Regions from separate parts of the Homo sapiens genome. Here region 2 is linked to region 1. Evidence: promoter capture Hi-C in 16 types of primary human blood cells and fetal thymus (Javierre and others, 2016). All regions are on one chromosome and are shown on one strand. Each heading gives the region's core, a stretch centred on a gene start or on the middle of the fragment in contact. The rest is flanking DNA. Distances are from core to core; before and after follow the strand shown.

The links. Contacts are between HindIII fragments. The CHiCAGO score rates a contact against its expected background, and 5 or more counts as called.
Region 2: a contact is called between a fragment that was not itself captured here and the fragment with the promoter of PRR35 in region 1, in 1 of 17 cell types (endothelial precursors). The highest score is 5.4, in endothelial precursors.

The regions. Positions count from the first base shown.
Region 1 is chr16:558,617-562,382 of GRCh38, forward strand. It overlaps PRR35 (proline rich 35), which reads left to right and starts at 1,778. Exons shown (of 3, transcript NM_145270.3): 1 at 1,778-2,045. RefSeq lists enhancers at 1,902-2,448, 2,449-2,994. The HindIII fragment of the contact is 12,132 bases long and covers 1-3,766 here.
Region 2 is chr16:386,883-390,648 of GRCh38, forward strand. The region is part of intron 2 of LOC100134368 (a long non-coding RNA gene); the gene reads left to right. It also overlaps a transcript of PGAP6 not described here and the pseudogene RPL23AP5. Among named protein-coding and RNA genes, the nearest start is that of PGAP6, 6.8 kb to the left of the region's middle. RefSeq lists a silencer at 3,602-3,766. The HindIII fragment of the contact is 3,189 bases long and covers 89-3,277 here.

The DNA.
Region 1 (3,766 bases), core at 528-3,027:
GTCTCCTGTGCTGTCAGCTGTGGCCTCTTCCAGACCTTCAAAGGGGTCAGTCTCGGGCTGGCCACTGAGGGACTACTGGTGTCAGGGTGACCTTGGACCCTAGTCTCCCGGGGCAGTGCTCAGCTGAACACGTCCAGAGTAGAGTCTATGTACAGAAGCAGCCGGCCTCCTGGCCCCCGCTCTCCACGGGGCTGCTGGCGTGACGGCAGCCCAAGCTGTCTCCCGGCCCGGAGCTGCCTGCACGGTCAGCTGGTCAGCTGGGCCAGGCCAGGTGGGCAGAGAGAAGGCTGGCATGCTCTGCCATCCACAGCACCCCTCCCAGTCCCCTGCCCCGCCCCAGGGACTTCCCTCAGACGGGCGTGTGCGGCTGTGTCAGGGAAGGTGGCATGGAGGCAGGAGGGAGACAGAGCCCCACGCCCACCCCAGAACCAGGGGCTGTTCCTCATGGACCCTGGGTGTGCTCTACCAGGGGGCTCTGCCAGCAGCCGGACCGGGGCCACGGAGATGCTGCTGAGCTCTCTTCTCTGCCCCATTCGAGGGGTGACACCCAGAAGCCCCGTGGGGTCCTCCCTTCTTCCCCAAGGCACCCCTGACCCCGACCTGAGCTGGGGACAGCCCGGGAGCCTGCGGCTGAGCCTGCAGAGAGCCCCAGGTCCTGGGGAGCTATGTGGGCCGGGCTCCCTGTGCTGTTTCAGAGTCAGCAGGGAGTAGCACACTCCCCTCTGGCTGGAGACCCCGAGACGCCCGCCTACCGCAAGTGTCGGGTTTAGGACGTCTCCCCTGAGCGAAGTCAGGGGCTCTGCCCCAGCCATGCCTGTGTCCGGGAGGGAGCAGGCCGGTCAGGCGAACCTCCCCTAGGCCCCAGCTGAGCAGTGGGGCTCCAGGCCTTTACGTTCTGGCAGCTCAGGGAGCTGCTTGGAACTTGGTGCAGCCCGGGAGGTGGGGCTGGGAGCAGCCCTGGCCCTGCTTCTCTCCTCCACCGCCCCAGGTCCTCTCAGGAGGGGACTCCCGTGGGGAGGGGGTCTTTCAAACAGCAGGGAAGTGCGTGGCCTCGTGGGGCAGCGCTGAGGCACCTCCCACAGGAGCCGGGAGTGAGGGCTGGAGGGGTCCGCATCCAGGAAGGGGGAGGGTGCTGGAGACCAGCCCCAGGTGGAGGCGGTCAGCCGGCAGGGCGGGGTGCGAGGGGCCGGTCCGGGCAGCCTCCGGTTTAGAGGAAAAGAGAACGGAGGGCAGGGCTCGCCCAGGGAGGGCAAGGAAGGGAGCCCGGCTCCGCTGGCTCAGTCCGCGGCACCCCTGTCCCCCAGGACAGCCCCCAGGGGCCCTGGCTCGGGTGGGCCGGCGGCTGTCAGGGGCCAGAGCCCTGATGGATAAGCGCTGACGGCCCCTCTCCCGCGCCCCGCGCCGCTGACACCCATCACGCCGCGGCGGGGACCCGGGAGACCTGGCGGCCTCTGTGCACCCCCGCGGCAGCCTGCGGGCAACGGGGGCGGGAGGCGCCGGGCGCCCCTGACTCGGCCGCACACCTGCGCCGCAGTCCGCTCTCCGTCCGCTGCCTCCCGGGTTCCCGGCCGCTCCACCGCGCGCCCCGAGAGCTGAGCCGGTCCCGGCGCACGAGGCCGGTGAGTGCGCGCCAGGGGGCGGCGGGGGGCGCGCGGGCGGCGGGGGCGCGGGGTTCGGGCCGGGGGCTGCTCCTTCCCTCCCGCCGCGAGCGCGGTCGGAGGTCGCAGCGCCCCCCGGAGCCCGGAGCCCAGGCGCACGCGCGCCCGCCTCTGCCGCCAACTTCGGGAGGTGCGAGCGGCGTCGGGGGGACGCGGGCGGCGGCGGAGGCTGCGGGAGTCGCTGCCGCTCGAGGGACCGCGGACCCGGGAGGTCCGGCTCCCGGCGCCGGGCCTCAGTTTCCCCCACGGGAGCCGCATCCCACCCCCAGAGCCCCAGCGCGTCCGCGGGGTCCGAGTCGCGGCCGGCGCGGGGCGGGGAGGGGCGGGAAGTTTGCGCCCTACACGCGGCCTCGCAGACTTGGCGGCTCCGCTCCCGGCCGGGCGCAGGTAGGAGCGGCGGGAGCCGCGGGGGCGGCCAGTTGGGCGTCGCGGGGCCGGCTGGACGCGGGGCGCGGGGGCAGCGGGTGGCCAGGCGTGTGGGGGGCGCGGGGGGCGGCCGGGTCCCCCCCACCCTCTTCTCGAAGTCCAGGAGCAGCGCGGGGGGAGGGAGGGCCGCCCTCAGGGGCCAGGCGGGGAGGGCAGGGGCCGGGTCTGGGGTCTGGGGCAGACGCCTGACCTCGCGCTCGCCGCACCCGCCTGTGTGGGGCGCCCTGCGTTCCCGGGGGGGGGGGCAGCAGGATCTGCGGGTGGCCGATCAGGGTCCCCGGCTGCTGGGTGCCCCCTCCTGCCCTGTGGGGGTGCCTGTGCCCCCCGTGCCACCGGTTCTCCCCCAGCTCTCCCCCAAACAGGGACAGGTGAGTGGGGCCGGGTGTCGGGGCCTGGCACAGGGCTGCTGGCTGCCCCGGGAGCGATTGCCGGGTCCGGCTGGGACGCGCGTGTGAGTGCGTATGCGTTTGTGTGTGCGTGTGGCTGCTGTCCAGGGGTGTCTTTTGCTCTGTGTACACACACCAGGTGGGTGCCAGCTATCCTCCGGGTCCCCAAGGGGTCAGCAGCTGCTGAGACAGCCCCTTGGACAAGCCCCTGACCCGGGAGCCCCCGGTCCCTGCTGGGAGGCGGGATGGGTTGTGGCATCGGCTGGCACAGCTGTGTGGCTCCCAGGGCTGGGTGATCGATGGCCCGGCACAGCCGCCTCTGTCGCCGGAGCGCCCACACCCATTTGTCATCCACATGGGTGGGGGGGGCGGCGGGCAGGGAGAAGGGGCCGCCTCTGCACCCACCACCCAGTCCAGGCCGGGTCTGCAGCCCCTCGGGGAGCCCCAGGACCTCTCCTGGCCCAGCCCCTGCCTCCCGACCGCCACCCTGTCTCAGCCACAGACCAGCTGGTCAGCCTCTGCCTGCCCCTGCAGCCCGTGACTGCCCTGCAGGGCCCCAAGCCTTTGGACGAGTGGACTTCTCCAGCCCTGTTGGTCGTCCCCCCAACGGCACCAACACAGTGTTTTGGGGGCAGCAGACAGCAGTGCCCCAGCCCTACCCTGCTCAACCCACTGGCCATGCATGACCACGGGTGCGACCCCCAGCCAGGTCTGCGTGTGTCCTGGGGAGTCGGTGTGTAGGGCCTGTGTGAGCATGTGAGTGCCGTGTTGGAGTGGTTTGGAAAGCCCCCCCACACCTGGATGGGTGGTGAGTGTGTTATCACGGACAAGCAGCCGTGTTCACCGTGATGGAGTGTGAGGTGTGTGCAGCCAGGGCCCCGCACTTGGTGGCAGACTCCGTTCTGAGCTTAGGTGGCACAGAGGTGGCTTCTCCGGGCACTGGGTGAGGGCTCTGTGTGAGCCTGTGGGCTGTGTACACACACCCAAAGCCCGTGTGCGCAGGCGTGCTGTGCACCCCACACAGGCGCGTGCTGGGGCGGTGGACAGCCCAGGTGGCGGCCCAGATGGAGTGTGGCGCGCATACCAGCGCCGTGTGGGGCGTGGGGAGGAGCGGGTCTTGGCTGAGTGTGGCCGCTGCAGGCTCGGCCGCTGACCTGCCCGAAGCCACCCAGATGGAGCTGGGCTGAGCAGGTGGCTGAGCCGTGGGGCCATGCTGGGACGTCCACTCCCCACAGCCTGGCCTGGCCCCACATGAGACTGACCCCCTAAGAGACCCCCAGTGCCCACCTGACGCCC
Region 2 (3,766 bases), core at 433-2,932, 170 kb before region 1:
CGCACGTCACTCACCTTCCAGCGGCCCAAGACACTGCGACGCCGGAGGCGGCCTGAATATCCTTGGAAGAGCACCCCCAGGAGAAACAAGCTTGGCCACTATGCTGTCATCAAGTTTCCGCTGACCACGGAGTCGGCCGTGAAGAGGACAGAAGAAAACAACACGCTTTTGTTCACTGTGGATGTTAAAGCCAACAAGCACCAGATCAAACAGGCTGTGAAGAAGCTCTATGACGGTGATGTGGCCGAGGTCACCACCCTGATTCCGCCTGATGGAGAGAAGAAGGCATGTGTTCGACTGGCTCCTGATTACGATGCGTTGGATGTTGCCAACAAAATTGGGATCATCTAAACTGAGTCCAGCTGCCTAATTCTAAATATATATATATATATATCTTGTCACCATAAAAAAAAAAATTGTAGCCAAGCATGGTGGCATGTGTGTCTGTAGTCCCAGCTACTCCACAGCCTGAGGCAGGAAGATCCCTTGAGCCCAGGAGGTCAAGGCTGCAGTGAGCCAAGATCGCACCACTGCACTCCAGCCTGGGTGACTGAGCGAGACCCCATCTCAAAAATAAATAAATTAACTAATTAAATCATTCAAGGGCTGGGGACGGTGGCTCACACCTGTAATCCCAACACTTTGGGAGGCAGAGGCGGGTGGATCACAAGGTCAGGAGTTCAAGACCAGCCTGGCTAATATGGTGAAAACTGTCTCTACTAAAAATACAAAAAACTGGCACGCACCTGTAGTCCCAGCTACTTGGGAGGCTGAGGCAGGAGAATCGCTTGAACCCGAGAGGTGGAGGTTGCAGTGAGCCAAGATCACATCACTGCACTCCAGCCTGGGTGACAGAGCAAGACTCCGTCTAAAAAAAAAAAAAAAAAAAAAAAGGAAAGGTCATTTCCCAATCCAAAAAAGTAGGAAGTATGTACCCTTTTTGAAGGGGATCTGCTCCTCCACACCTGTGGGTATTTCTCGTCAGGTGGGACAAGAGACTGAGAAAAGAAATAAGACACAGAGACAAAGTATAGAGAAGGAAAGGGGGGCCCAGGGGACCGGCGCACTCAGCCTGAGAGGACCTGCAGGGGCGCTGGTCTCTGAGTTCCCTCAGTATTTATTGATCATTATTTTTACTATCTTAGCGAGGGGAGTGTAGCAGGCCAACAGATGGAGAGAAGGTCAGCAGGGAAACATGTGAGCAAAGGAATCTGTATCATGAGTGAGTTCTAGGAAAGGTACTGTGCCGGGATGTGCACATAGGCCAGATTTATGTTTCACTTTACATAAACATTTCAGTGTAGCGAAGAGTAACAGAGCAGTATTGCTGCCAGCATATCTCGCCACCAGCCACAGGGCGGTTTTCTCCTATCTCAGAATAGAACGAATGGTCGGCTTTACACCGAGACATTCCATTCCCAGGGACAAGCAGGAGACAGAAGCCTTCCTCTTATCTCAGCTGCAAAGAGGCCTCTCTCCTTCACTGCTCCTCCTTAGCACAGACCTTTTTACGGGTGTGGAGCTGGGGGATGGTAAGGTCTTTCCCTCCCCACGAGGCCATATCTCAGGCTGTCTCAGTGCGGGGAAACCTTGGACAACTCCCAGGCTTTCTTGGGCAGAGGTCCCTGCGGCTTTCCGCAGTGCACTGTGTCCCTGATTAATCGAGAACGGAGAATGGCGATGACTTTTACCAAGCACACTGCCTGCAAACAAATTGTTCACAAGGCACATCCTGCACAGCCCTGAACCTATTAAACCTTGATTCAACACAGCACATGTTTCTGTGAGCACAGGTTTCTGTTAAAATTACAGGTTAACAGCATCTCAAAGCAGAAACAATGTTTCTTAGTACAGATCAAAATGGAGTTTTCTACATAGACACAGTAACAATCTCATCTCTCTTCTTTTCCCCACACTTTTTTTTTTCTTTTGAGACGAAGTCTCACTCTTGTCCCCCAGGTTGGAGTGCAATGGCGCGATCTCAGCTCACTGCAACCTCCGCCTCCCAGGTTCAAGCGATTCTCCTGCCTCAGCCTCCTGAGTAGCCGGGATTACAGGTGGACACCATCATGCCCCGCTAATTTTTGTATTTTTTAGTAGAGATGGGGTTTCATCATGTTGGCCAGGATGGTCTTGATCTCCTGACCTCAGGTGATCCGCCCGCCTCGGCCTCCCAAAGTGCTGGGAATGACAGTTCAGTTTTTTGTTGTTTTACATTCAGTCCAGCTTTTTGTTGTTGTTTTACGTTCAGCGGATGGCAGTAGACGGGTTTTTCTTTTTCCTTTTTTTTTTTTTTTATTGAGACAGGGTCTTGCTGTGTCGCCCAGGCTGGAGTGTAGTGGGAACATGGTGGCTCCCTGCAGCAATGGCCTCCTGGGATCAAAGGATCCCCCTGCCTCAGTCTCCCAGGTGATTACAGGCCAGCACCAGCACGCCCAGCAGTGGTTCTTATTTATCCCCATTTTGTCTGAGCAAATGAATGCCTGTCCTGGGTGTGGGTGCGAGTGAGCTGGAAGATGAAGGGCATGGGCAGTGACCGCACAGCGCTCAGCCTGCAGGGAGCCTGGGGTGAGTCCAGCAGCACTGGAGCGCGGAACCACAGCAGATGTCCTTGTCCCTTCCAAGGGGTGGGAACAAAGGTGACAGGGACAGAGATGGCTGCCGGGGTAGGAGGCCCAAGAGTTGCTCTCTGCTGAGAAGGCTCCCCTTGGTGTCCCTCAGAAGTGTACCTGGGCGGGCCGATGGGACTGGGACTGAGGCTGTGCTCCTCCTACAAGGAGGGGCCCACTCTTCCTGGATCTCCCTGCAGTGACCTCAGCAGAGGTGAAAGAGGTCTAGCCGGGCACAGTGGCTCACGCCTGTAATCCCAGCACTTTGGGAGGCTGAGGCAGGCGGATCACCTGAGGTCAGGAGATCGAGACCATGGTGAAACCCCGTCGCTACTTAAAATACAAAAAAAATTAGCAAGGCGCAGTGGTGGGCACCTGTAGTCCCAGCTACTCGGGAGGCTGAGGCAGGAGAATGGCGTGAACCGGGGAGGTGGAGCTTGCAGTGAGCTGAGATCCCGCCACTGCACTCCAGCCTGGGCGACAGAGTGAGACTCCGTCTCAAAAAAAAAAAAAAGAAAAGAAAAAGAAAGAGGTCTAGCCTGTGTACACGTGGAAATCCAAGAGGACAGGGAAGACAAACTGAGACAGAAAAAAAATATGTGAAGAAATACCCCAAATTCTAAAATTCGGTGAAAGGCATTCATTTACAGATTCAAGCAGCTTAGTGAAGCTTAACAAGAATCAATGCAAAGAAAACCATAGCCAATTACATCATAGTCAAACTGCTGGAAAACGAACTTATAGAGAAAATATTGAAAGCAGACAGAGAAAGATAACACATTATAGTCCAGGGAACAATTGAATGGCATAACTTCCCATTAGAAACAATGGGGTCCAGGGCCGAGGGCTGTGGCCACGCCTGTAATCCCAGCACTGTGGGAGGCCAAGATGGGAGGATCAACAACAGCTTCATGGTTTCTAACGGGAGTTCAGGCGCGCACCACTACACCCACCTAATTTTTAAAATTTTTTTGGGCCGGGCGCGGTGGCTCTCGCCTGTAATCCCAGCACTTTGGGAGGCCAAGGCAGGCAGATCACGAGGTCAGGAGATCGAGACCATCCTGGCTAACACGGTGAAACCCCATCTCTACTAAAAATAGAAAAAATTAGCCGGGCATGGTGGCGGGCGCCTGTAGTCCCAGCTACTCCAGAGACTG